Linked DNA regions of Homo sapiens: regions 1, 2, 3, 5, 6 and 7 are each linked to region 4. Evidence: promoter capture Hi-C in human tissues and cell types (Jung and others, 2019). All regions are on one chromosome and are shown on one strand. Each heading gives the region's core, a stretch centred on a gene start or on the middle of the fragment in contact. The rest is flanking DNA. Distances are from core to core; before and after follow the strand shown. Region 1 has its middle 25 kb from the start of KICS2. Region 2 overlaps C12orf56 (chromosome 12 open reading frame 56). Region 3 overlaps SRGAP1 (SLIT-ROBO Rho GTPase activating protein 1). Region 4 holds the start of SRGAP1 (SLIT-ROBO Rho GTPase activating protein 1). Region 5 overlaps C12orf56 (chromosome 12 open reading frame 56). Region 6 overlaps KICS2 (KICSTOR subunit 2). Region 7 overlaps KICS2 (KICSTOR subunit 2).

Region 1 (4,107 bases), core at 529-3,028, 400 kb after region 4:
GGAGGCTGAGGAGGGCAGATCACCTGAGATCAGGAGGTCGAGACCAGCCTGGCCAACATGGGAAAACCTCGTCCCTACTAAAAATACAAAAATTAGCCAGGTGTGGTGGTGCATGCCTGTAATTCCAGTTATTTGGGAGGCTGAGGCAGGAGAATCGATTGAACCCAGGAGTCAGAGGTTGCAGTAAGCTGAGATTGCACTACTGCACTACACTCCAGCCTGGGCAACAGAGCAAGACTCTATCTCAAAAACAAAATAAAATATAAACTCCACAAAGGCAGGGATTTTTATTTCTTGTTTACTACTATATCTCTAGCACCTGGAATAGTGCCCAATGCATAGTAGCCATAAAATATGTATTTGTGGAATGAATGTGTAAGATCCCAAGTGCAGTACGAAAACTAAGCAGTTGCCTTGGCGAGGACTCTGATTGTAAGAAGGAAATTTAAATTAAACTCTACCCTTAGCCCCTCATATTAGCTCTCCAAAAGGACAGTGAGATGAAGCTTTGTTTTTCAAATCTGAGACGGTTAGGAATTGAAGCTGACTAGCCACTATAGACTGAATGTTTACGTCTCCCCAAAAATCATATGTTGAAACCTGACCCCCAATGTGCTTGTATTTGGAGGTGTGGCCTTCAAGAGGTGATTCATGTGGGCACAGCCCTCAAAAGTGGGATTAGTGCCCTTATATGAGACTCCAGAGAGCTCCCTGGCCACTTCCACTATATGAAGACACAGTGAGAGGACAGCCATCTATGAACCAGGAAGCAGGCCCTCACCAGACACCAAATCTGCCAGTGCCTCGATCTTGAACTTCCCTTGCAGCTCCTCAAAACTGTGAGAAATATTTGTTTTGGATAAGCCACCCAGTCTGTGGCATTTTGTGATAGCAGCTTGAGTGGACTAAGACACTAACCAAATGGTCTAGAAGAAGAGAGATGGATAAAATGATTGCTTGTCTGGGAAGTGTGGCTGAGACCAAGTGAAGGTCCTTGCAACCAAGTAGCTATGCAAGAACCCAGTACTAGAAACCACAATGAGTCTGAATGTACCTGAGTTCCTGGGCTGAATTTGTGGCTGTAATTACAAACCAGCAGGTGGTGAGGAGTTCATTATTGCTTATGTCAAACATCTATAAGATAGATCCTTTCACCAGCAAGACCTGAGAACAAAGGACTTTCTGATTACAGTCAACTTCCAGCTCTCCTTAAGTGAGTCTTCCAAGCTCAAATAGCTGAATCCACTAACAGGCCTCTGAAAGGAATCAGTTCATCTGTCATCCTGCGTGAATATATCCACAACAGAAGTTGCCAACCTACCTACCACCTGCAGGACAATTTTGGCTCACAGCCCGCTGTTGTTTATTTTTCAGCAGCTTGATTTGAGATATAATTCACATACTATACAATTCACCCTTTTAAAGTGTGCAGTTCAGTGGTTTTTAGTATATTCACTGAGTTGTGCAACCATCACTACAATTTTATAACGTTTTAATCAACTCCCTCCCCAAAAAAACCCACAACCATCCAGCCCTAGGTAACTGCTAATCTACTTTCTGTCCTTATAGATTTGCCTATTCTGGCATTTCTTATAAATGGAGTCATACACTATGTGGTTTTTTGTGACTGGCTTCTTTCACTTAGCATAATGTTTTCAAGACTCATCCATGTTCTAGCACATGAATGCTTCATTCTTTTTTGTTTTGTTTTGTATTGTGGTTTTTTTATTTCAGTAGGTTTTTGGGGAACAGGTCGTATTTGGTTATACAGGGATAAGTTCTTCAGTGGTGATTTCAGAGATTTTAGTGCACTCATCACTCAAGCAGTGTACATCGTACCCAATATGCAGTCTTTCATTCCTCACCCCACCTCCCATGCTTCTCCCAGAGTCTCCATAGTTCATTGTATTATTATTATTATTATTATTATTGAGACAGAATTTCACTCTTGTTGCCCAGTCTGGAGTGCAGTGGTGCGATCTCGGCTCACTGCAACCTCTGCCTCCCGGGTTCAAGCGATTCTTCTGCCTCAGCCTCCTGAGTAGCTGGGATTATAGGCACCCGCCACTATGCCCGGCTAATTTTTGTATTTTTAGTAGAGACGGGGTTTTGCCATGTTGGCCAGGCTGGTCTTGAACTCCTGACCTCAGGTGATTCACCTGCCTCAGCCTCACAAAGTACAGGGATTACAGTCTTGAACCACTGCACCCAGCCCATTGTATCATTCTTATGCCTTTGCATCCCCATAGTTTAGCTCCCACTTATAAGCAAGAACATATGATATTTGGTTTTCCATTCCTGAGTTACTTCACTTAGAATAATGGCCTCCAACTCCATCCAGGTTGCAAATGCCATTCTTTCATTTATTTTTATGGCTGAGTAGTATTCCATTTTATATATATATATATATCACATTTTATCCACTCATTGATTGATGGACATTTGGTCTGGTCCCATATTTTTGCAGTTATGAATTGTGCTGCTATAAACATGTGTGTGCAAGTGTCTTTCATATAATGACTTCTTTTCCTCTGGCTAGATACCCAGTAGTGGGACTGCTGGATCAAATGGTAGTTCTACTTTTAGTTCTTTAGGGAATCTCCACTGTTTTTCACAGTAGTTGTACTCGTTTACATTCCCATCAACAGTGTAAAAGTGTTTCCCTTTCACCACATCCACACCAACATCTATTATTTTTTTATTTTTAAATTATGGCCATTCTTGCAGGAGTAAGGTGGTATCACATGTGGCTTTGATTTGCATTTCCCTGATAATTAGTGACGCTGAGCATTTTTTCATATGATTGTTGGCCATTTGAATATCTTCTTTTGAGAATTGTCTATTCATGCCCTTAGCCCATTTTCATGGGATTGGTTTTTTTCTTGCTGACTGGTTTGAGTTCCTTGTATATTCTGGATATCAGTCTTTGGTTGGATAGTTTGCAAAGATTTTTCCCCTCTCTGTGGGTTTTCTGTTTACTCTGCTGCTTCTTTCGCTGTGCAGAAGCTTTCTGGTTTAATTAAGTTCCATTTTATTTATCTTTGTTTTTGTTCCATTCGCTTTTGGGTTCTTGGTCATGAAGTCTTGCCTATGCCAATGTCTAGAAGGGTTTTTCCAATGTTATCTTCAAGAATTTTTATGGTTTAGGTCTTAGATTTAAGTCTTTGATCCATCTTGAGTTGATTTTGTATAAGGTGAGAGATGAGGATCCAGTTTCATTCTCCTATGTGTGGCTTGCCAATTATCCCAGCACCATTTATTGACTAGGGTGTTTTTCCCCACTTTATGTTTTTGTTTTCTTTGTTGAAATCAGTTGGCTGTAAGTGTTTGGCTTTATTTCCGGGTTCTCTATGCTGTTTCATTGGTCTCTGTACCTATCTTTATGCCAGTATCATGCTGTTTCGGTGACTATAGCTTGATAGTATAGTTTGGAGTTGGGTAATGTGATGCCTCCAGATTTGTTCTTTTTGCTTAGTCTTGTTTTGGCTATGTGGGCTTTTTTTGGGGGGTTCATATGAATTTTAGGATTTTTTTCTAGTTCTGTGAAGAATGATATTTTGATGGGAATTGTGTTGAATTTATAGATTGCTTTTGGCAGTATGGTCATTTTCATAATATTGATTCAACCCATCCATGAGCATGGGATGTGTTTCTATTTGTGTCATCTATGATTTCTTTCAGCACTGTTTTGTAGTTTTCCTTGTAGAGGTCTTTCACCTCCTTGGTTAGGTATATTCCTCAGTATTTTATTTTATTTATTTTTATTTTTTTGCAGCTATTGTAAAAGGGGTTGCATTCTTCATTCTTAGCTCGGTCACTGTTGGTGTATAGCAGGGCTACTGATTTGTGTTCATTGATTTTGTATCCTGGAACTTTACTGAATTCATTTATCAGATCTAGGAGCTTTTTGGAGGAGTCTTTGGGGTTTTCTAGGTATATGATTATAACATTGGCAAACAGCGACAGTTTGACTCCCACTTTATTGATTTGGATGCCCTTTATTTCTTTCTCTTGTCTAATTGCTCTCGCTAGGATGCTTCATTCCTTTTTATTGCCAAATAATATTCCATTATATGGCTAGGCCACATTTTGTTTATTCACCCATCA
Region 2 (4,252 bases), core at 1,737-4,236, 470 kb after region 4:
CTTCCGAAAGATTCTTCTGTTGTAATGGAGAATGGGCTGGAGAGGAGCAAGAGTGAAGGCAGAGAGACCAGCTAGGAAAACACTGTAGGAGCTCAGAACTGAGATAACTGGGCATGAGCGAGTGACCATGGAAAGAAGTGGATGTTATCCAGAGATAGTAAAGGCGCAATAAATAAGGCATGTGATGACTGGCTGGATGCTGGAAATGGTGAAGGGGAGAGAGGAGGCAAGGGTGATTTCTAGGACTCTGGCTGAGGTGATCTAGGGATAATGACATCATTCCCTGTGTTAGGAAGCACAAGAGGAAAGTCAGGTTGCAGAGGGAAGATGCTGAGTTCTCTTTTAATATGTTGACTTTAACGTTCCTATGAGACATACAAAAGATGTCCAGTGGATACCTGTGTTTGCAGACTTAACCGTCAGGGCAGGCAGATGAGGTAAAGGTATAACTGTGATAGCCACACATACAACACAGAGTTAGGGGAGGCAAAGAGGGCCGGGCACGGTGGCTCGCACATGCAATCCCAGCACTTTGGGAGGCCAAGGCAGGAGGATCACCTGAGGTCAGTCCAATCTAACCGACCTGGCCAACATGGCGAAACTCCTGTCTCCACTAAAAAATACAAAAATTAGCCAGGTTTGGTGGCGGGCGCCTGGAGTGCTAGCTACTTAGGAGGCTGAGGCAGGAGAATCTCTTGAGCCCAGGAGGTAGAGGTTGCAGTGAGCCAAGACTGTGCCACTGCACTCCAGCCTGGGAAACAGAGTGAGACTCAGTTTCAAAAAAAAGGAGAGGCAAAGAGGAGAGAAAAATTCCCCATGCAACTCTATCATACATCATCACTTCTTACCTATATGGCTTTTGACTTCCAATAGCAGGACTGAACTCACTAGCATAGAAGGGATCTTGTAAAAGAGTAGCTTTCTGAAAAAGGAAAAAGTAGAAATTGTTAGAATTTTTATTTACTGAAGATCAATTCCCCCTACCTTTAGTCAATGTTATGTATCTATTCTTTAAGCCCTCCTATAGTACACGATTTGTTTATAAAACTCATTCTAGTGTTTAATAATACCACAGGGAATTTTTTTCTTATCCAGTTTTTAAAAAGTTTTAAATATAACACTTGCTCATTATAAAATGAAATTATTTAGGCCGGGTGCGGTGGCTCATGCCTGTAATCCCAGCACTTTGGGAGGCCGAGGCAGGCAGATCACAAGGTCAGGAGATTGAGACCATCCTGGCTAACACTGTGAAACCCCATCTCTACTAAAAATACAAAAAAAATTAGCCGGGCATGGTGGCAGGTGCCTGTAGTCCCAGCTACTCGGGAGGCTGAGGCAGGAGAATGGCATGAACCCGGGGGGCGGAGCTTGCAGTGAGCAGAGATCACACCACTGCATTCCAGCCTCTGCAACAGAGCGAGACTCTGTCTCAAAAAAAAAAAAAAAAGAAAGAAAGAAAGAAAGAAAGAAATTATTTATCAAAATCACACAGTTTAGATAAAGTAAAATATAAAATTCTCTGTTTTTCCCTACCCCTTCCATCCCACTATGCAAAGTGTCTGATCATGAAGCCAGGTACCATGGCTTGTACCTGTAGTCTCAGCTACTTCGGAGGCTGAGGCAGGTGGATCAAAAGAGTCCAGGAGTTGGAGGCTGCAGTGAGCTATGATTGTGCCACTACACTCCAGCCTGGGCAACAGAGCAAGACCTTGTGTCTAAAATTTTTAAAAGTATCTATCGTCTGTTTGGTTTAGGTCCTTCCAGGCATATAAAGACATATGAATTATAAACACATAAATTTATAGTATTTATATATTTTTATAATATATATTTAATCCTAAATTATATCGCATATATTAATCTGGAACTTGATTTAACTTAATATATGGTGGATGGTTTTTCATGTCTGTGTATATAGATTTACCGATTTACAGCCCGGCCCAGTGGCTCACACCTGTAATTCCAGCATTTTGGGAGGCCAAGGTGGGCGGATCACGAGGTCAGGAGTTCGAGACAAGCCTGGTCAACATGGTGAAACCCCATCTCTACTAATAATACAAAAATTAGCCAGGCATGGTGGCACATGCCTGTAATCCCAGCTACTCGGGAGGCTGAGGCAGGAGAATCGCTTGAACCTGGGAGGCAGAGGTTGCCGTGAGCCAAGATCACACCATTGCACTCCAGCCTGGGCAACAAGAGCAAAACTCTGTCTCAAAAAAAAAAAAAAAAAAAAAAAGATTTACCGATTTACTTCAATTTTTTTTTTTTCTTATGAGACAGGGTCTCACTCTGTCACCCAGGTTGGAGTACAGTGGCATGATCATACCTCACTGCAGCCTCAAACTCCTGAGCTCAAGCAGTCCTCCTGCCTCAGCCTCCTGAATAGCTAGGACTACAGACATGTTCTACCTTGCCAGGCCAATTTTTTACTTTTTATTTTTTAGTAGAGATGGCGTCTTGCTATGTTGACCAGGCTGGTCTTGAACTCCTGGCCTCAAGCGATCCTCCCCTCTGAACCTCCCAAAGTGCTAGGATTACAGGCATAAGCCACTGCATCCAACCAATATCAATTCTTTTAATGATTATTTAGTATTCCATAGCATAGATACACAACACTTTTGTTAACTATTTCCTTATTAATGGAGTTATTTTTCCTTAAACCTTTAGTGTTGCCATTTCTCATTTATTCTGGGTCCTCAAAATAGTCATACAGTGTTCAGCAATTTCTCTAAATAATCTTTTATTTATGTTGAGGCTTAAGACAGGTCAGAAGGAATTTCTCAAATGTTGTTGATTTGACACTGCAGACAAGCTTTTTTTTTTTTTGAGACGGAGTCTCGCTCTGTCAGTCTGGAGTGCAGTAGCGCCATCTCGGCTCACGGCAACATCCGCCTCCCAGGTTCAAGCGATTCTCCTGCCTCAGTCTCCCGAGTAGCTGGGACTATAGGCGCCCGCCACCACGCCCGGCTAATTTTTTCTATTTTTTAGTAGAGACGGGGTTTCACCGTGTTAGCCAGGAAGATCTCGATCTCCTGACCTCCTGATCCGCCCGCCTCGGCCTCCCAAAGTGCTGGGATTACAGGAGTGAGCCACCGCATCCGGCCAGCTTTTTTTTTTTTTTTTTTTTTTTTTTTTTTTGAGACGGAGTTTAGCTCTTGTTGCCCAGGCTGGAGTGCAGTGGCACGATCTTGGCTAACTGCAACCTCCGCCTCCCAGGTTCAAGCAATTCTCCTGCCTCAGCTTCCTGAGTAACTGGGATTCCAGGCGCCCACCACCACGGCCAGCCAATTTTTGTATTTTTAGTAGAGACGGGGTTTCACCATGTTGTCCAGGCTGGTCTCAAACTCCTGACCTCAGGTGATCCAACTGCCTCAGCCACCCAACCTGTCTTGTGCTTAATATCAGAGTGGTGTAGTGGGTGGATGGTGGCAAGGGAGATATGTGCTTTTTCTTACTACTTTTGTCATTGTTCTACGTTTTTTTTTTTTTTTTTAAAGCAGCCTTTCTTCCCTCTCCAAATATTTACATTTTCCTTAAATCCAGAATTTTAATTTGGGGTATCCCATATTTAGCTTTGTAGCAGCTATCTTCACAATGTATACAAGGCAAGGAATTACCACATTTCATCTTTACAGAATTTAAGGCGCTAAACAACCTACGTGTAACTATTTTTGGTGAAAGTTACATATAAAATGGATTACTGAAGGAGGCTCAACTCTTTGGAAACTCTTAAAATCAGGATGAGTGCTGATAATTTCTAATTAGATGGTTTGGGTTAATTTTATCTAAAAGTACAGAGAAAGTTAAAATGTGTAATGTGGCCGGGCACAGTGGCTCACCCCTGTAATCCTAGCACTTTGGGAGGCCGAGGCAGGCAGATCACCTGAAGTCAGGAGTTCAAGACCAGCCTGGCCAACATGGCGAAACCCTGTCTCTACTAAAATACAAAAATTAGAAGAGGATGGTGGCGCATGCTTGTAATCCCAGCTACTGGAGAGGCTGAGGCAGGAGAATCAATTGAACCCGGGAGGCAGAGGTTGCAGTGAGCCAAGATCGCACCATTGCAAGCCAGCCTGGGCAACAAGAGTGAAACTCCACCTCAAAAAAAAAAAAAAAAAAGTGTTTATATTGAACTAGTAGCTTATTGTTAGTAGAATGAATTCTAACCCGATTTCTCACTTACGTGTGAAATATTTGGTTATTCATTTTCCATCTTTCAAGGAAGAGATAGAACATTATTGTAATTTTTAAA
Region 3 (4,036 bases), core at 413-2,912, 310 kb after region 4:
AAGACATTTTATTCTTTTTTGTCTTCATCAGAATTTATTGAATCCTGATTATTTTTTCCTTAATGTTGATTTTGTAGACTCATTTGCAGGAAGAACAATGTCAGGTGGAGAGAAGGAATTGAATGAATATTTTTAATAAATTTGTAGATGTTAATATGATTTACTTATTTGCAATTTTCATAGCTATATGATATTCTATCCCATTTCCAGTGTTTTTGCTCTTTTAGTAGCAAATACTCTGAATCTCTGCATATGTTACTCATTTTCTATCATCCTATTCCTTGTGATGGATACCCAAGGGTACTCATCTACAGGATGAAAGGGTATGAGCACGTTTCTAGGTGCCCTGACCCCAAGATTAGGGGTTTTGTTAGAGGCAAAGCTAAAAGGAAATGATAAAATAAATGAATATTTATAGAAGTTAAATCTATTAATCTAGCCTTATTACACCGAGTACAACAGGGAATAATAAGCCATCTATCTGAACGTGCACGGTTAGGGCCTCAAGGAAAGTGGGCTCAGCAATGAGTGTTGGTACACATGGAAAATCACATTTGCCATGTTTTCTATGGCTTTGGGCTGCTGCTGCATCACTGCAGTTTAATAGGAGGAGGCTGGTGAAAATGTTACCAACTGCCAGGGGTCAATGGCGAAAGAACACATTTCTCTAGGAAAGATTACCTTCTCTGAAGAAGTGATAGGGGGAATAAGGCATAAAATTATCTGACCTGAGAGACCTTAACAGCTAGGCCTGCACTGCTCATGCTTTGGGACCAGAAAGCGGATGGTTTGATATGGTAGCTGCACTTCTAAAAAAAAAAGGGGGCATTCTTGGCAGGAGAAAGGGTGTTACATGGAAAGATCAGCGATAGTACACACGCCTTCCCATAGAGTGAGGTGGCTTTCCCACCCCTCAACACTCCTTCAGACCCCCACTGTAACAAAGGGATGTGTCTACCTCTAAATTCATCATTTACTGAACAAATAACTCATGAGGGTTACCATATGTCTGACACTGTAGGAAGAGCTGAAGCAGGGCCTAAAACACTATAGTGCAAGTATCTGTTTACACATCTGTATGAGAGTAATTGATGCTAGCTGCTGTAACAAACAACCCCCCAAACTCAGTAACACAATCAAGCTGTATTTCTCCTTCACATCATAGCCTGGTGTGGGTCAGGTAGGTGACTCAGGGTTCTAGGCTCCTTCCATTTTTTTGTCGCTGCCACACTGGAAATGGGATAGAATATCGTATAGCTATGAGAATTGCAAATAAGTAAATTATATTAACATGTACAAATTTATTAAAAATACTCTTTCAATTCCTTCTCTCTGCCTGACATTGTTCTTCCTGGAAATGAGTCTACAAAATCAACATTAAGGAAAAAATGATCAGGATTCAATAAATTCTGGATAGAAAAAAGAATAAAATGTCTTTAAAAATTTATATTTCAAGTGTGTGGGGGCAATAAAGAGGCCAGATAATAGTAGTTAAATGTGGGGCTCTGTAGGCAATAGATCTAGGTCAGATACTGGCTCAATTGTTAGCTGTGTGATTTCACAAGAGATAACTGATGCTAGCTGCTGTAACAAACAACCCCCCAAACTCAGTAACACAATCAAGCTGAATTTCTCCTTCACATCACAACTTGGTGTGGATCGGGCAGGTGACTCAGGGTTCTGGGCTCCTTCCATTTTTTTTGTTGCTGCCACCTTAGTACGTGGCCACCATGAAGAGGAAGAGAAAGCACTTGCAATGATGTGAGGTTTTCTGTCTTGGTATGGAGGAGACATGAATCACTACTGTACATGTCCAAGTCACATGGCAAGGGAGGCCAGGAAATGTCATCTTCCTATAATGCAAGAAAAAGAACCCAGGGCCGGGCACAGTGGCTCACGCCTATAATCCCCACAATTTGGGAGGCTGAGGCAAGAGGATTGCTTGAGCCCAGAGCAATTAAACACTGCCTGGTGCATAGTTAGTGCTCAAGAATTGTGCTATAATCAATGTTACTAAATTATCTAGGATTAGATGTTTCTAAATTAAAACTATTTCCTGCTTTGTATTTGTCCTTTATTCCAAAAACTTAAAAATTTCTCATTTCTGGTTTGTCAGGGATGAAATACTAAAGCAACTTCATGGATTGTGATTTCAAGTATATGAAAAGTTTAAGACCCAATTGCTTTTGAAGGAGATTCATCTAGAAAAACCAGGGATTCAAACCCAACACATCGGGTGCTAAAGTCTACCCTCTTAGTTGACATAGAATTAAATTAAAATCAGTATTGATTGGATTATGCTTTGATAAAAATGTAACTTCATTTAAGTCTAGTAAATAATTAGGATTATGAGGTCAGGAGTTTGAGACCAGCCTGGCCAATATGGTGAAACCCCGTCTCTACTAATGATACGAAAATTAGCCGGGCATGGTGGCGTGCACCTGTAGTCCCAGCTACTCGGGAGGCTGAGGCAGAAGTATCACTTGAACCCGGGAGGTGGACGTTGCAGTGAGCCAAGATCGCACCACTGCACTCCAGCCTGGGTGACAGGGTGAGACTCCATCTTAAGAAGAAAAAAAAAGCAATTACTTTTGCACCAACCTAATAAAAATGAAAAATCCCAATGAAAATGCATGAATATCATGTGCCTTGACAACTTACGGAGCATTTGGAACATGTCAAACAGTAATCAGAGGTCAGGTTGAGGAAAAAATGATAAGAACCCTCTCTGCCCCACCATTCACATCATTCAGTGGATCTATGTACTAAATCTAGCCAGTGGGTTGTGAGCAAAAATGATCTGTGTCACTTGTGGGTTAAAATATAAAAGAGTGCTAGGCACACTGGCTCGCACCTGTAATCCCAGCACTTTGGGAGGCTAAGTGGGAGGATCGCTTGAGCCTAGGAGTTCAAGACCAGCCTGGGCAACATAGCAAGACCCCATCCCTACAAAACAGTTTTTTAAAAAACTAGCTGTAGGGCAGGCACGGTGGTTCACACCTGTAATCCCAGAACTTTAGAAGGCCGAGGTGGGTGGATCACTTGAGGTCAGGAGTTCAGGACCAACCTGACCAACATGGTGAAACCCCATCTCTACTAAAAATACAAAATTAGCCAGGCGTGGTGGCGCATGCCTGTAATCCCAGCTACTCAGGAGGCTGAGGCAGGAGACTTGCTTTAACCCAGGAAGCGGAGGTTGCAGTGAGCCAAGATTGCACCATTGCACTCCAACCTGGGCAACAAAAGTGAAACTCCATCTCAACAAACAAACAAACAAACAAACAGTAGCTGGTTGTGGTGGTGTGTGACTGTGATCCCAGCTACTTGGGAGGCTGAAGTGAAAGGATCGCTTGAGCCTGGGAGGTAGACGCTGCAGTGAGCTGAGATCATACCTCTGCACTTCAGCCTGGGTGACAGAGTGAGATCCTGTCTCAAAAAATAATAACAATAACGTATGAGAGAGGATTCAAGCTTTCCAAGCAGTCTCTTCCCCTGCCATGGCACTCATAGAAGCCTCCCGTTAAGATGGCAGAGCTGTAATGCTAGAAAAGCACAGACTGTTAAGTCACTGCATGGAGGATGGTCATCCTGGAGAATTGTTTGGACTCGAGTGGACTCTACAACAGCAGGAAATAAACTACTGTTATATCAAGCTACTGACATTGAGAATTAGGTTGCATAGTTATGCCACAGCATAATGTAGCCTTTCCTGATGCATACAATTACTTTTCCTTTCTTTTTTCTTTTCCCTGGAGTTCATAATTACCTTTGTTTCATTTGCTTAGCTTTCTATTTACATAAATAGGTAAAAATTCCTTCTCAAAAATCTTTTACAGAAGTGTTCTCAAACTCAATGCATTGAAACATGCTATAGTTTATAAATCTTGGATCCATCACTTAAAGAGGCATTTGACCTGTTTCAGTATGGATAAGTTGTTCTCTAAGTCTACTGCATAGCTGAGAGCCTAAGATCTCTGGGGACTCACTCCACTTTTCTCTTGAGTTGGTTCCACTATTTCCTGGAACCTCATACAGC
Region 4 (4,171 bases), core at 1,051-3,550:
ATATTTTTAGTAGAGATGGGGTTTCACCATGTTGGCCAGGCTGGTCTCGGACTCTTGACCTTGTGATCTGCCCACCTCGGCCTCCCAAAGTGCTGGGATTACTGGTGTAAACCACCGTGCCCAGCCAGAATCTTTTGAGGCCAGGAGTTTGAGACCAGCCTGGGCCATAGAGCAAGGCTTCATCTCTACAAAAAAGTAAAAATAATAAAAAAAAATTTAAAAGGCTGGCAAGGATGGATTTAAAGTACTTAACACAACACCTGAACCATGCAAAGATGGCAAGGTAAATTCTTCGTTATATTGTTCAAAAAGAGACTAGAGTTTGAGACCAGCCTGGACAACATAGGGAGACCCCCGTCTGTACTAAAATGAAAACAAACAAACAAATAAAATAAAAAGAGACTAGACACGATAGATCTTGTAAAAGGTATCTATTAAAAACGTGGCCGGGCGCCGTGGCTCACACCTGTAATCCTACCACTTTGGGAGGCCGAGGTGAGCGGATCACTTGAGGTCAGGAGTTCAAGACCAGCCTGACCAACATGGCAAAACCCTGTTTCTACTAAAGATACAAAAATTACCCAGGCACGGTGGCGGGCGCCTGTAGTCACACCTACTCTGGAGGCTGAGCCAGGAGAATCACTTGAACCCGGGAGGCGGAGGTTGCAGTGAGCGGAGCTCGTGCCCCTGCACTCCAGCCTGGGCGAGAGTGAGACCCCGTCTCAAAAAAAACCCCCAAAAAACAAAATCAAAAAACAAAAACAAAAACAACCGTAAAAGTACTAAGTGCAATGTAGTGTCCTGTGTTGGATCTTGGAACAGAAAAAATGACACTAGTCGAAAAAATTGGTAAAATTGGAATAAAATCTGGAGTTTAGTAAATAAATAAGCTAACAACGCCGTTAAGTGTGACGTGTTTCCATACCATCGCTTTCCTACCATCCTAGCTTCCCTATCTACTGTAGGAATAGAGGATATGGTGTTCAAGGTGGGTGTTTTTCTCCGCCTCGATTGAAGAGCTTCGCGCTCTTTGGATTAACAGCCAGGTCATTCACAATTCAGTGTTCAGTTTTTCTATTGGGGTCCAGCGTCTCGGAGTAACATCCCTTTGTGTCATGGATACATCCAACTCTGGACTTCCCCATTAGATTCTGGCAAAAGCCCCACCAGAGCCCCCGCCAGAGCCAGAAGGCGGTCCCTCAGGTCAGGAAGGGGTTTTCCTGCCGCCGGAGCCGCGACCTCGGCTAGCGGTGGAGCGGGGCTTCGGCGGAGGGAGGTGCGGGGCCTCGGCGGAGGGAGGTGCCGGGGGCGCCGCCCACGGCCTCCTGGGCTCGGCGCGCGGGGCCGGGCTGCGGTTGGCCACAAGAGGCATCCATCTTCCCGGACCAGCCAGGCGTTTCCTAGCGGAGCAGGGGCGGGAGCTTGGACGGAGAAGGGCACAGGCCGGAGCGCGGTCCGCTCCCGCGAGCCTGGCCCCGCCTGGCGGAGCCCCGAGGAGCCACCGCCCGCAGATCGCTAGCCGGGCGCCCGCGAGGCGCGAGCCGTGTGCGCACCCTCAACTTTGCTGCCGCCGGGGGCGCGGCTCCCGCGTGCGTGTGCGAGTGTGCCTGTCACTAGCGGCCTCCTGGGGGCAGCAGCGGAAAGGGGGACGCAGAGAAAGGCAGCCTCGGCGCACCGCGGCCAGGGAGGCAGAGGCCCCTCGCGGCGCCGGCTCTGGAGACCTAAACTCCGCCGGGGCTGTGCCCAGGGCGCGTCTGAGCGTCGCCGCCTTCACCCTCTCAGCAGCAGCGGGGACTCGCGTCAGGACTGCGATTCCTTTCGCCTGCCGAGCTGTAGCGGCAGTGTCTGCGGGCAGAGGAGCGGCGGCCGTGGCAGCAGCATCCCCAGCCCGGGCGGGACCCTTGAGCGCCGGAGCCGACAGCTGGAGGCAGGAAGGGAGGGTTGTGGCGCCCGAGCTGGGCGCGTTCCCAGCGCCTGCCCTCCGCCGCTGGCCCTGTCCCGGGCGCCCGGTGCGGGTCTCGAACAATGGTGCGGAGCGCCGGCGCGAGCCCCGCGCCCGCCCAGCGGCCGTAGAGGAAGTGGCCGGGCTCCCGGCGAGGTGGGCAGGGAGACGTCCCCCGCCACTCGCTGGCTGGAGTTTGCCTGCGCGTCCGGCCTCTCCCCCGGGGATCCCCTGGGATTACCGACGGAGCTCAATTTCGAGAGTATGGTGCCAGCGCCCGGGCTAATCTAGTCCTCTCTACTCGCTCTTTTTCCCCTCCTCCTCCTACTTCTCCTCTCCCTCCTCCCTTCCCTCGGGTCGGCGCTGCCTCTGGATTGCCTGCGTGTGGGAGTACAACTCTGCCTCTCCAAGGAGAACGGGTTGTGACCACTGAACAAAACTTGCCCATTGAAAGCAAACCCGGAACAGCTGGATAATGTCCACCCCGAGCCGATTCAAGAAGGACAAAGAGATCATAGCCGAGTATGAAAGTCAAGTCAAAGGTAAGGATGGGAGCGGCTGCCTTGCTCCTTTTGTGTGCCTTCTTGTCATTGTGCTCGTGGAGTTGCGTATCTAACTTGGTGTCTGCGTGGGAGGAAGGTGGTGAGGGGACAGCTCGAGCCCTGTCTGAGCCACCTGGGCTTCCTACAAGCCAGTTAGTTCCCAGTTGCAATCCCAGTCCCGTCAAACCCACGGGGAGCTGGAAACTGGGTGACTTCCCCCGCCAGCTGCCAGCCCGCATCTCTAATGGGGAGAGAACTGGCTTTAACTTAACCACCTTCAGCTGGGCAACTTATGTGGGAAGCAGGCAGCAGTGGAGGATCCTGTCCAGCTATTATTATCACCATCATTATTCTTTTTAAATGGTAGGATTGTCACTACGTAATTTTTTTACGGAATGATTTTTGTAAAGTCTGTGAACCCCAAGCGGTCTACAGCCTCATTGAGTGCAGGCTATTTCAGATATTTACACCACTCACCTATTTACACCGCTCACAATTTATTAGGGCGAGACCCCTTTTATTAAATAGCTCCCTAAAAGCCTGGCAGTTAAACGAAGCAGTGACTAGTGGAATCTGACTCTTCCTTTATAATGGGCCAGAATTCATTGCCATCTTTCACACTCACATGGGAATATTGCTTTATCATTTTCTGGAAGCCACTTGCATGTAAAATGAAGGTTTGAATATTTGAGTAGTAGTTTCAGTCCATTTACATTGTCAACTAATGAAGGAAACCTAATTAAGGCTGATTATTTTTACTTTCTATGCCTTGTGATTAAAAATATATATATTTTCTCTCCAATACAAGTATTTTGTTTTGTTACTGAAGTGTTTCGTAAACATATGTGTTACTTGAATTTTTTCCTCCTCTTTCCTGAGGTCTCAGGAGTAGCTTTCCTGATTGAGACAATGGATGGAATGTTGGGACCGCCACTGTTCTTTGACACATTCAATGCAAAGTTCATAAAGATTGCTATGTATACACCTGTGTTTATCTATGCACAGTCTTATGAAAGGGCTACGGAGAGAGGCATTACTGTACTTCCCTTGAGCAAGGGAGGAGCAGCCTGAGTGTTCTTTTGTGTGGTCAAGTTGTAAAAATGCCTGGAGTCCTGTGAGAGGACCTGGTGGAGAAATCCTGTATCATCCAGTGTGAATACAGACCAACTCATTGTGGACACTGCAGACACAATATGCAAGATAACTTAGGTTATCTTTAGGAGGACCCCTATAATGGAGTTATCTATAGGCTGACCCCTATAATGTGTTCAGGAGACACAGATTTTTGTCTGCTTGGAATTGTGATAATTTATACTTACAGGAACTTGTTTCATTGCTATGGAAGTTGTGTTAGCAGATAAGTAATTATTTTCTTAGAGCCAGGTAAACTTTCTAATGAGACTAACCTTTCTTTTTTCAGTGAGTCCAACATAGCCTAAAACCTTTCATTCCAGGGCAGTACTCTTGTTCACAACCACCATTTCTCTGTGCAGTTTTTCCACATGGCTCTTTGTGGCAGGTCTTCAAGGGGTGGCGGTCTGGTTTTTCTGCCGCCTAGAGCACTAATTGGCAAATGCACTTCCAAATGTTGATTTCTTTATGTTTGCTGTAAGGTCACTTGCCAGTGATCAAGTCCTTATTTGAAAATCAGCGAAATGGGATGTGTTGCAATGTGTCTATCAAATTC
Region 5 (3,815 bases), core at 1,105-3,604, 450 kb after region 4:
TAGGTGACAGAGTGAGACTCCATCTCAAAAAAAAAAAGAAAACCTATTCTCATAATTTAAATTTTACCTTCAAGAAAATTAAAAAATAAAGACCACTTAAAAGAAAAAAGTATGCCTCAATAAAGTTCATTTTAAAAGGGAGGGAGAAAACTATATATAATATATATTTTTATATCTATAATATATATCACTCTATATTATAGCGTATCTGTAATTTTTATATCCATAATATGTACATTATATATGTGTATAATTTTCCATCCTATTACAGGAACCAAAAATTAGAGATGCCTGTGATGGTTAATTTTAGGTGTAAACTTGGCTAAATTAGGAGTACCTAGAGAACTGGTAAAGCATTATTTCTGTTATGTCTGTGAAGGTATTTCCAGAGGAGACTGGCATGTGAGTTGGAGAACTGAGTGGTTCTGTCTCTCTGGAGAATTCTAATACAGATTTTGGTACCAGAAGTGGAATTGTTGCTATAAGGAATACCTAAAAATGTGGAAGTGACTTTGGAATTGGTTAACGGATAGAGGCTCGAAGAATTTGGAGGAGCAACCTAGAAAAAGCCTAGATTGCAATAATTGGAGGATTAAAGGTGATGCTGGTGGGGGCTCAGAGAAAGAGGACAGCTGTAGGGAAAGTCTGAAACTTCTTAGACATTTCTTAAGTGAAAGAGTGAAAGATTATTCTCCAGCTTTAAGACACTGTTATTTTCCCTGTTGGGTTTTGGACTTACTTGGCCCTTTCCTCTTGCTTATATCTTCCTTTTGGAATGGGAATGTCTATCCTCCACACATCCCATCACTGTATTTTGTAAGTAGATAACCTGTCTTGATTTACAGGCTGACAACTGGAGAGGAATTTGCCTCAGGATGAATCCTGCCTTGAGTGTCACCCATACCTGATTTAGATGACAATTGGTAATTTGGACTTATGAGTTGATGCTGGAATGAATTAAGATTTTTGGAGCTATTGGGATGGAATAAATGTATTTTGTATGTAAAAAAGACATGAATTTTTGGGGCCAAGAGCAGAATGCTGTAGTCTGAATGTGTCCCCCAAAGTTCATGTTTTAGAAACTAATCCCCAATGCAACAGTGTTGAGAGGCGAGACCTTTAAGAGGTTGATTGGGTCATGAGGCTCCTGACCTCATAAATGGATTAATGTCATTATTGTGGGAGTGGGTTTCTGATAAAAAGATGAGTTTGGCCCCCTTCCACCCTTTTTTTTTTTTTTGCATGCTCTTTTGCCCTCTGCCTTCTCATGGGATGACACAACAAGAAGACCCTCACAAGATGCCAGCACCTTGATACTGGACTTCCCTGCCTCCAGAGCTGTCAGAAGTACATTCATATTCTTATAAATTACCAAGTTTGTGATACTCTGTTATAGCAACACAAAACAGACTAAGACAATGGCCCTAATCTCTCCACCCCAGTATGGGTTTCTAAGGGAGCTTCACAGAACGTATGTTTTCCAAGAAATATAGCATAAAGTTGAAAAACCACTGCTTTAGCTTAAGGCTATGATAACAATTTAAATAAAAAAATCTTAAAGGATGTTGACTTTTATTAGTCATATATGCTAATTTTGTGAAAATAAATCTGAGGATAGATTTTGGCTGTGGATTAGACAGAAGAACATAAGGCTACTGGGTTTGATAGCATGGTTGGGGATAGGGCCAAGGGGGACTCCACTGAAGTGTAGAGAGACCACAAATAGAGAGACTACCCATTTACTTTTTTTTCTTTTTTTTATTATACTTTAATTTCTGGGGTACATGTGCAGAATGTGCAGTTTTGTTATACACATGCCATGGTGGTTTGCTGCACCCATCAACCCGTCAGCCACATTAGGTATTTCTTTTAATGCTATCCCTCCCCTATTCCCCCGTCCGCCGACAGGCCCCAATGTGTGATGTTCCCCTCCCTGTGTCCATGTGTTCTCATTGTTCAACTCCCACTTATGAATGAGAACATGCAGAACATGTTTGGTTTTCTGTTCTTGTGTTAGTTTGCTGAGAATGATGGTTTCCAGCTTCATCCATGTCCCTGCAAAGGACATGAACTCATCTTTTTATGGCTGCATAGTATTCCATGGTGTATATGTGCCACATTTTCTTAATCCAGTCTATCACTGATGGACATTTGGGTTGGTTCCAAGTCTTTGCTATTGTGAATAGTGCTGCAATAAACATACATGTGCATGTGTCTTTATAGCAACGTGATTTATAATCCTTTGGGTATATACCCACTAATGGGATTGCTGAGTTAAATGGTATTTCTAGTTCTAGGTCCTTGTGGAATCGCCACACTGCCTTCCACAATGGTTGAACTAATTTACACTCCCACCAACAGTGTAAAAGCATTCCTATTTCTCCACATCCTCTCCAGCATCTGTTGTTTCCTGACTTTTTAATGATCACCATTCTAACTGGCATGAGATGGTATCTCATTGTGGTTTTGATTTGCATTTCTCTAATGACCAGTGATGATGAGCTTTTTTTCATGTTTGTTGGCTGCATAAATGTCTTCTTTTGAGAAGTGTCTGTTCATATCCTTTGCCCACTTTTTGATGGGGTTGTTTTTTGCTTGTAAATTTGTTTACGTCCTTTGTAGATTCTGGATATTAGCCCTTTGTCAGATGGATAGATTGCAAAAATTTTCTCTCGTTCTGTAGGTTGTCTGTTCACTCTGATGATAGTTTCTTTTGCTGTGCAGAAGCTCTTTAGTTTAATTAGATCCCATTTGTCAATTTTGGCTTTTGTTGCCATTGCTTTTGATGTTTTAGATATGAAGTCTTTGCCCATGCCTGTGTCCTGAATGGTATTGCCTAGGTTTTCTTCTAGGACTTTTATGGTTTTAGGTCTTATGTTTAAGTCTTTAATCCACCTTGAGTTAATTTTTGTATAAGGTGTAAGGAAGGGGTCCAGTTTCAGTTTTCTGCATATGGCTAGCCAGTTTTCCCAGCACCATTTATTAAATAGGGAATCCTTTCCCCATTGCTTGTTTGTGTCAGGTTTGTCAAAGATCAGATGGTTGTAGATGTGTGGTGTTATTTCTGAGGGCTCTGTTCTGTTCCATTGGTCTATATGTCTGTTTTGGTACCAGTACCATGCTCTTTTGGTTACTGTAGCCTTGTAGTATAGTTTGAAGTCAGGTAGTGTGATGCCTCCAGCTTTGTTCTTTATGCTTAGGATTGTCTTGGCTATGCGGGCTCTTTTTTGGTTCCATATGAACTTTAAAGCAGTTCTTTCCAATTCTGTGGAGAAAGTCAATAGGTAGCTTGATGGGGATAGCATTGAATCTATAAATTACTTTGGGCAGTTATGGCCATTTTCACGATATTGATTCTTCCTATCCATGAGCATGAAATGTTTTTCCATTTGTTTGTGTCCTCCCTTATTTCCTTGAGCAGTGGTTTGTAGTTCTCCTTGAAGAGGTCCTTCACATTCCTTGTAAGTTGTATTCCTAGGTATTTTATTCTCTTAGTAGCAATTGTGAATGGGAGTTCACTCATGATTTGGCTCTCTGTTTGTCTGTTATTGGTGTATAGGAATGCTTGTGATTTTTGTGCATTGATTTCGTATCCTGAGACTTTGCTGAAGTTGCTTTGATAAGCTTAAGGAGATTTGGGCTGAGACGGTGAGGTTTTCTAAATATACAATCATGTCATCTGTGAACAGAGACAATTTGACTTCCCCTTTTCCTATCTGAATTATTTCCTTCTCCATTCACTTTGGCCTTTCATTTTTGATAACTGAATTAGAAGATTTGTTTTAGCCCAGGTAAGAATATTATATTAAATAATG
Region 6 (4,257 bases), core at 1,425-3,924, 350 kb after region 4:
CTTTTTAGCTCCAATTGCTTTCAATTTCTTAGGTAAGGTCAATGTTGTAAAATCTGCTGAGACTTTTTTTATAGAACCTGAGTGAATAAAATGCAGAGGTAAATCACTACTTTCTATTTAAAGCAAACTAGCTTTTTACAAAGCTTATGACCATTTTTAAAGAAAAAGAAAGGAGGCCAGGTGCAGTGGCACATGCTTATAAACCCAGTGCTTTGGGAGGCCGAGGCGGGAGGCTCATGTGAGTCCAGGAGTTTGAGTCCAGCCCGAGCAACATAGTGAGACCCAGGTGTGATGGCTCATGCCTGTAATCCCACCTACTCGGGATGCTGATGTGGGAGGATCACTTGAGCCCAGGAGGTTGAGGCTGCAGTGAGTTGTGATTGTGCCACTGTACTCCAGCCTGGAAAACAGACAAGACCCTGTCTCAAAAAAAAAAAAAAAAAAAAAGGAAAAACACATGTTCTTCCCAGAAAATAAAAAATAGGCCAGTAGATTCTTGGTTCTTCTTCTTCTTTTTTTTTTTTTGAGACAGGTCTCGCTCTTTCACCCAGGCTGGAGTGCAGCTGCACAGTCTCAGCTCACTGCATCCTCCACCTCCCAGGTTCAAGCAATTCTCCTGCCTCAGCCTCCAGAGTAACTGGGATTACAGTCACCCGTCACTACAACCGGCCAACTTTTGTATTTTTAGTAGAGATGGGGTTTCACCATGTTGGCCACGCTGATCTCGAACTCCTGACCTCAAGTGATCCACGCGTCTCAGCCTCCCAAAGTACTGGGATTACAGGCGTGTGCCACCGTGCCTGGCCGGTTCTTCTTTCTTCTGCCAGGCAGTCCACCCTAGGTGGGCAGGCTTCCTACATGGACTCTGAGGGGCTCTCTGGTCTCTGCTGATGTTGCTGGCATACCTGCTGTGGACACCCAGTAAAACAGTGGCTCCACACAATCATGGGAAAAAAGACGAATATGACCATTACATTTCACACAAGCTTCAAAGGAACCATCAAACCAGTAACAACTCAATTACTCTTTGTGGCTTCTTTTTATTTTGAATCAATAATCTAGAAGTGAAGGTCTCCACAGCCCATTATGCCTTCACTGATCCACCTACTTCCCATGAACACCTGCCGAAGGAAAGAAATAAGGCAGCATGTGCTAAGATGCAGTGCTGCTTCTAAACATAATTTGTGGGGGGCAGGCATGAAACCCAAGTTCAGAAGTGCTTAAGTACTGAGGTGATTACTCAACTATGAAGAGGTCTTTCAAGCGCACAGTTGATTTTTAGCAAGTACAGCGTATGAAGACCTTCATTTTGATTTTATAAAAGTAGGCTATGTTGCATGAGTATCTAAAAGTGGCTGAAAAACCGACTGCATGCTTTTAAGCCTAAAAATAACCAAGGAGTAGAGCCAAACATGTACATTTCAGCAGAAAAGTGATAAACAGAAAGCGAAGCGGATAATATGCTGAAGAATGAAGAAAGCCCACATGATGGCTTATGCTGACTTTACAACAGAGTGAAACATTCAAACATTAAAGAAGTCAAAACAAATGCAGTTAGGTGTGTACATTACCCCAAAAGAACCCATGGCTATTAAAGCTGCCATGAGGATCTTCTGAACTGTTAAAACCTTACGTCATGCTACCAATCTGACTCACTTTCAGTTTCAATAACTGATAGAAATTTCTTACCAAGACCCTAATTTTGGCATCAAAAATGTTAATTTGTAGATCAGAATCATAAATCTACTAACTCCATATTCATTTGCTAATTTATGAGACAGAAAACATATAGTTCTTAATTCTAAAAAGGCCATTTAATATCTCATCCCTATTACTCTTCCAAGAAGGAGGGAAACAGAGAGGCTGTTTGGAATTGCAGTAGAACACAATGTTTAGAACAACAGAAAAACATATGGGAAAAAAAAAAGCCCAATAAATATTCAATCTACAAGAAATATAGCAAAATAGGGGAAAATACTGAAACTACTTTGCTGTACCATGGAGACACATGGTAGCCCATGACCACTTCCTAGATTACTCTTTGGAAACTTAATTCAATTGGCCTTAATTGCTTATAAAGTGTGCAACACAGGGAGGATTTGTCTTTAATTTAGTTCTGAAAGAGGCATGAATGGATGTAAACTCTATTCACAGACCACCGTAGATCATTAGGGCAATTAAGAACAGTTTCTAGTCTTGAAACCCCTCCACGCAAATCACCTGCTAACCTTTGGCTCCAGGTTTCAGACTTGCAAACACTTTGGGGTTCTTAAGGGCAAGTGAGACCTCATTGAGGAAGGAAATAAAGTGGGAGTCTCTCTCAGATTTCTTTGACTCAAAAATGATGACAATGGTAAAGTGAGGTTCCGGGCGGGTTAGGAAGTAGGTACTCTGAACTTTGTCATCATAGAAGTGGACCACTTTCTCCAAGCTGTTCAGATCAGATGTGCGGTCCGTCATGATCATGATGACATTGGGCCAGTGCATGACTGGCCTGTCGCTGGGCAGAGACACTACAGCTGGATACTGGTCCACACCCTTGGGGGCCTCTCTGTAGGAATGGGGGTGGTGATAACCATGACCCTGAAAACTCTCAGAACCTCTGTTGTCAAAAATTAAGGACACATTGGCAGCATCATATTTTCTGATGAAGCTGGAAATCTTTCCAAAAAAGTCTGGGTTAGCTTTTGCTGTCAACGTTTTCATTTCTGAAGCAGTCGTTTGTCGGCTCAGAGCCTCATGAAAGTAAAAGCTAAACTTGGCAAGAAGCATGTTTTTGAGTTTCATCAGCCAAAGGAAAAGGTGTGGAGGCTGCACGGCCTTCTGAGACTGCCCTCCAAACAGATGTTTCTTGGTCTCCCGCTGTTTCTCAAAGATCTGGCCCCACGTCTGCAGTTTGGTGTGCGCACTGTGTAAATTAACCAGAGATGGGAGGAACTTCCACTCTGAGACCTGGGCCTGGGCTTTCAGGAGATGACACAGGACGTCAACTTCCAGCTGGAAACTGCTTTCCAAAGGACTGAGGATTGGGTGGTGAAATCTAAAGGGGAGAGGGAAATAGAGATAAGTGGAAATGTTACTTCACTTGCCACACTGACATTTTTCTAACCACAAAGCAACAAAATGGCCAAACATAATATTATGCTTCAGGACAGGGGAAGAAAAGATGGAGGAACTACATGTTGATTTATTTTAAAATTCTGATATAATTTCACCATTTCAAAATTATGTCAACATCATATTCTCCTGTGGAAATAGCCTGAGAGTAGTGGCCACTTTTCCTTTCAACAACAGGAATACCAAATTAGCTACAATTCATTTTTTTTTTTTTATTTATTTATTTTAGACTGGTTCTTGCTCTGTCACCCAGGCTGGAGTGCAATTGTACAATCATGGCTCACTGCAGCTCAGTTCCTGGGCTCAAGTGAGCCTCTTGCCTTAGCATCCCAAGCAGCTGAGAACATAGGCACACACTCCATTTTCTGTAGAGACAAGGTCTCCCTATGTTGCCCAGGCTGGTTTCAAACTCTAAGTGATCTTCCCACCTTGGCCTTCCAAAGCGCTGGGATTACAGGTGTGGGCCACCATGCCTGGCCTAAATTAGGTATAATTCTTTCTGAGTGTATTTTATTTATTCTGGCAATTGTATGACTAAAACAATCATTGAAACAAGGCATGCTCTTTTCAGAGTGTGGTCCTAAAGAGGCAGAGGTAAAACAAAAAAAGTCACTAAAACATCTGTTGAATGTGTAGATGACACATATAAACTCATTTAATGTTCACAGTAATGCTATGAGGTATTAAGCCTATCTTGCAGATGACAGTACCTACTATAAGCTTATATGGAAAACACAGTAGATAAAATAAATGTTTATTAAAGAAATAGAGCATTTATCAGACAGCCCTTATTCAATCCTGGTTCCCAAATTCCCTTCATATTAATTATAGTTAAAAACAAAATGGTGTGGGGAGGGAGGAGCCAAGATGGCCGAATAGGAACAGCTCCGGTCTACAGCTCCCAGCATGAGCAACGCAGAAGACGGGTGATTTCTGCATTTCCATCTGAGGTACCGGGTTCATCTCACTAGGGAGTGCCAGACAGTGGGCGCAGGCCAGTGGGTGCACGCACCGTGCGCGAGCCGAAGCAGGGCGAGGCATTGCCTCACCTGGGAAGCGCAAGGGGTCAGGGAGTTCCCTTTCCGAGTCAAAGAAAGGGGTGACGGACGCACCTGGAAAATCGGGTCACTCCCACCCGAA
Region 7 (3,773 bases), core at 1,236-3,735, 370 kb after region 4:
AGGCTACCATCATAGCCTGCTAAACTAACCTTTTCTCCTGTAACCTCTCCCTTCACCATCCCATTGCACACACAGTGCCACAGTAATTAGTCTAAGATGAGAACATGATACTCCTGGTTCAAAACTTTTCATGGTTCCCCACTGCTTACCAAATTAAGTACAAATTTTCAACCTGGAACACAACTATTCACTCATTTATTCAGCAAACATCTATTCAGCATCTACTATGTGCTAGGTTCTGTTCCAGGTGCTAAAAGCACAGCAGCTGTGATGGAGCTCACATTCTAGTTTTTGAGAAAAGGAAAGAAAAAACACCCTAAACAAACAACAGTAACTTCAGATGGCAATAAATCAGGAGAATAAGATAGTGACTAAAAGCAGAATAGTTTTGGTAGGATAGTGAGAGAAGCCTTCTCTGTTTGAACCAAGACTTAAAGATGAGAAGATAACTACAGTAAGAACTTATAAGAGAGAAAGAATTGCAAGTACCAAAACCCTGAAGCCTTTTTGTATTCTGAAATATCCTCTCATCTCAAAACACCTGCCGTCTTCTTTCCTACAGTTGCTTTCGAAATCCTACCTGCCGTTAAAAGCTCAACTCGGCTGGGCATGGTGGCTCATACCTGTAATCCCAGCACTTTGGGAGGCCAAGACAGGGAGATCACAAGGTCAGGAGTTCGAGACCAGCCTGACCAACATGATGAAACCCCATCTCTACTAAAAATACAAAAAAAATTAGCCAGGCATAGTGGCATGTGCCTGTAATCTCAGCTACGCAGGAGGCTGAGGCAGGAAAATCACTTGAACCCAGGAGATTACAGGCACTTAGTGGATGCCCTCCTCCACTAAGAATACTTAAAATGAAATCTAAACTGTATGGCAGAAACTCTAAAAGCAATTACAAAGGAGTTTCCAACACATGTTAAAGAATGGCTTGTTCAAAGGAACAAGCAGATAAATCACTGATTACTTTAAAAGGGACAATATTTATTTGAATAATAATTTGTTAAAAATTCACATTATTTTCAGCCAGGTGCATTGGCTCAGGCCTGTAATCCCAGCACTTTGGGAGGTGAAGACGGGTGGATCACTTGAGGTCAGGAGTTCAAGACCAGCCCGGCCAATATGGTGAGACCCCGTCTCTACTAAAAAAAAAAAAAATACAAAAATTAGCTGGGTGTGGCGTGTACCTATAATCCCAGCTACTCAGGAGGCTGAGGCAGGAGAATTGCTTGAACCCAGGAGGTGGAGGTTGCAGTGAGCTGAGATCATGCTACTGCACTCCAGCCTGGGCAACAGAAAATACAATAATACGTATTTTCATATTATTTTACTATGTTACAATTTGGTTTCCAGAAAAAAGAAATTCCTATTATTTTATATACAATTCTCTTGTTGTGTGAACTCTTTCCTAAGCAGCAAAATCGGTTATAATACAAGTTTTACGATTACTTCATTCTCGGTCTTTTGCTATTGCTTAGCAGCCGTGTGGTGTTAATAAGACCAATGAAGGTGCCTAATGTATACCTGTTGATTAATGAATATGTATAAAATGTAATCCAGTTATTTATTTCACAGTTATTTCATCACAGATTTTCATAAGAGTGTGGAGAAAAACTCTGAGCTTGTGTGGGATTGATAGGACAGCCACGCTTTCTCCCTCCCTCCTCCCCACACTGACCTGGAGCTGTATTTTTTCATGATGGCATCCAAAAGGCCAACGAGCTCTTCAGCATTGATGAACTTCTGTGTGCTGAGGGTGTACATCTTCTCATAGAAGTCTGCTATCTCCATCCGAGCCTGAACAAAGAAGCAGAGCTGCTCTGACAGGTGGGAAAGGAGTTCTTCCACGTGAGGAGCAGTCCCACCCAGGGCACCACGGCCAGTCACCACCTTCTTCAGCTCATTATGCAATGAAGTATAGATGGTGCGGATGGAATCCTTCCTGCTGAAGAAAGACTGGCCCCCTGGTAGGCAAACAACATAAGCACATGACAAGTAAGAAGGAGAAACCGTAAGTACCAAACACCTACCAACATGCAAAAGCAAAGAATCCAAACCCATTGAGCTCAGTAAGTTTTCATCTACCATATTCTCTGTCTATGATTGAGATATAAATACTTTATGATAATCATAAATACTTTATGATTATCATAAATACTTTATGATAATCATAAATACTTTGATTCATAATTTCCCTAAGGAATAAGCTAAATGAATACCTGATAGAATTCATTACTGTAGCAATGGACCTGTGTACAATTTGCTTACCCATGTACCAATTCTCACCCACCCCAATTCAATGAGGATTCAGATTTACTTCAGAGCATAATTAACCTAGCAAATAACACCAACTGGAACTAAAAAGCCTACCTTTCACATAGATGTATTCAAAGCAAAAGAGCACACAAATTATGAAACACTATTTTTATTCCTGCTGTGTCATGATTTTTTGTTTCTGCTTTAGAGTTGTATTTTCCTTTGAATCTAATCTTTTAGATCATACCAGAAAATTGAATACATACACATATATTCCCTCTATGCAAGAAAACAGACTACTGGGATCCCAGGAGAATAAAGAAAATCTTAGCACTCTTGACAAGGTTGACACTATATGTTATAAATAATAAGCACCACATTGTGAATTATTAAGACCAGGAACCAATTATAAATAACTGCTGCTGTAACCAAGGGATTCCAAAGGAAATCAGCAAAAAATAAAACCAAAAACACCTTTATATAGCCAAAAAGGATCAAATAGCATAGATATCATTTACTCACTTCTGTATGTACACATGAGCAATTATATTTCTAATTATGGAGCCAGCTTCATGGATGTTCCCTTAAGCAATTCTGCACCCACCAAAGGGCCAGAGGCAAGATATTAGGAAAATGAAAAGAAAAAAAGAAACAGGGCAGGTTTAAAACAGTGATTTCTAGGAATATATAAAAAAACTCAAGAGATGGACAAGAGTTTAAATTTTCTCTTCAATGAATTTACTATTCTAAACATATACCTGTAATTAGGAATAAAAATGTATCAAGGCATTTGTAAAATATCCTCTTAATAAATGAACCATTTTACAATATTGATTTTAATTCATTGCTCGGTTTATGTTTCAAGAAATGAATCTTCCTTCCCTTACTACTAGGTAACCAACTTGTCCCAGTTTACCCAGGACTTTCCAGGTTTTAGCACTAGAAGTCTAGCTTCTCAGGAAATCTTTATAAGGTTTTAAAACAAAGTCCCACATCCTAGAAATCCCTCAGGCCTGGGAAAATTTTGAACAGTTGGTTACCCTACTTATTTCTGACACCCCAGACAAACTACTGATACTTTGAAAAGTGTTTTTCCAATATACTGTCTAAACCAGGGGTGTTCAATCTTTTGGCTTCCCTGGGCCACATTAGAAGAAGAAGAATTGTCTTGGGGCACATATAAAATATGCTAACACTAACCATAGCTGATGAGGAAAAAAAAAAAAACGCACAAAAAATCTCATATTGTTTAAGAAAGTTTAGCCAGACATGGTGGCTCATGCCTGTAATACCAGCACTTTGGGAGGCTGAGGCGGGAGGATCACCCGAGGTCAGGAGTTCAACACCAGCCTGGCCAACATGGTGAAACCCCGTCTGTACTAAAAATACAAAACAATTAGCCAGGCATGGTGGTGGGTGCCTATAATCCCAGCTACTCGGGAGGCTGAGGTAGGAGAATCGCTTGAACCAGGGAGGCAGAGGCTGCAGCGAGCCGAAATCGTGCCACTGCACTC

What was found. Contacts are between HindIII fragments. The study calls those that stand out against the background at their distance.
Region 1: a contact is called between a fragment that was not itself captured here and the fragment with the promoter of SRGAP1 in region 4, in 12 of the 25 tissues and cell types used here (H1 embryonic stem cells, aorta, dorsolateral prefrontal cortex and 9 more).
Region 2: a contact is called between a fragment that was not itself captured here and the fragment with the promoter of SRGAP1 in region 4, in 1 of the 25 tissues and cell types used here (aorta).
Region 3: a contact is called between a fragment that was not itself captured here and the fragment with the promoter of SRGAP1 in region 4, in 1 of the 25 tissues and cell types used here (lymphoblastoid cells).
Region 5: a contact is called between a fragment that was not itself captured here and the fragment with the promoter of SRGAP1 in region 4, in 1 of the 25 tissues and cell types used here (aorta).
Region 6: a contact is called between a fragment that was not itself captured here and the fragment with the promoter of SRGAP1 in region 4, in 6 of the 25 tissues and cell types used here (H1 embryonic stem cells, aorta, heart left ventricle and 3 more).
Region 7: a contact is called between a fragment that was not itself captured here and the fragment with the promoter of SRGAP1 in region 4, in 2 of the 25 tissues and cell types used here (adrenal gland and dorsolateral prefrontal cortex).

Annotation. Positions count from the first base shown.
Region 1 is chr12:64,244,818-64,248,924 of GRCh38, forward strand. No RefSeq gene overlaps it. Among named protein-coding and RNA genes, the nearest start is that of KICS2, 25 kb to the left of the region's middle. The HindIII fragment of the contact is 5,361 bases long and covers 1-4,107 here.
Region 2 is chr12:64,311,831-64,316,082 of GRCh38, forward strand. It overlaps C12orf56 (chromosome 12 open reading frame 56), which reads right to left. Exons shown (of 13, transcript NM_001170633.2): 5 at 849-922. Among named protein-coding and RNA genes, the nearest start is that of C12orf56, 77 kb to the right of the region's middle. The HindIII fragment of the contact is 8,294 bases long and covers 1-4,252 here.
Region 3 is chr12:64,156,206-64,160,241 of GRCh38, forward strand. SRGAP1 (SLIT-ROBO Rho GTPase activating protein 1) reads left to right here. Exons shown (of 22, transcript NM_020762.4): 22 at 1-4,036. Among named protein-coding and RNA genes, the nearest start is that of KICS2, 64 kb to the right of the region's middle. The HindIII fragment of the contact is 6,714 bases long and covers 1-4,036 here.
Region 4 is chr12:63,842,400-63,846,570 of GRCh38, forward strand. SRGAP1 (SLIT-ROBO Rho GTPase activating protein 1) reads left to right here and starts at 2,301. Exons shown (of 22, transcript NM_020762.4): 1 at 2,301-2,484. The coding sequence starts at 2,418. RefSeq lists silencers at 1,234-1,653, 1,714-1,773, 1,884-2,143 and enhancers at 1,306-1,807, 1,808-2,307. The HindIII fragment of the contact is 18,473 bases long and covers 1-4,171 here.
Region 5 is chr12:64,295,645-64,299,459 of GRCh38, forward strand. All of the region lies in intron 6 of C12orf56 (chromosome 12 open reading frame 56), which reads right to left. Among named protein-coding and RNA genes, the nearest start is that of KICS2, 75 kb to the left of the region's middle. The HindIII fragment of the contact is 3,151 bases long and covers 780-3,815 here.
Region 6 is chr12:64,191,619-64,195,875 of GRCh38, forward strand. It overlaps KICS2 (KICSTOR subunit 2), which reads right to left. Exons shown (of 3, transcript NM_152440.5): 3 at 1-3,040. The coding sequence ends at 2,224. Among named protein-coding and RNA genes, the nearest start is that of KICS2, 29 kb to the right of the region's middle. RefSeq lists enhancers at 2,512-2,931, 4,211-4,257. The HindIII fragment of the contact is 4,221 bases long and covers 565-4,257 here.
Region 7 is chr12:64,213,997-64,217,769 of GRCh38, forward strand. KICS2 (KICSTOR subunit 2) reads right to left here. Exons shown (of 3, transcript NM_152440.5): 2 at 1,682-1,967. Among named protein-coding and RNA genes, the nearest start is that of KICS2, 6.4 kb to the right of the region's middle. RefSeq lists a silencer at 1,207-1,404. The HindIII fragment of the contact is 3,866 bases long and covers 553-3,773 here.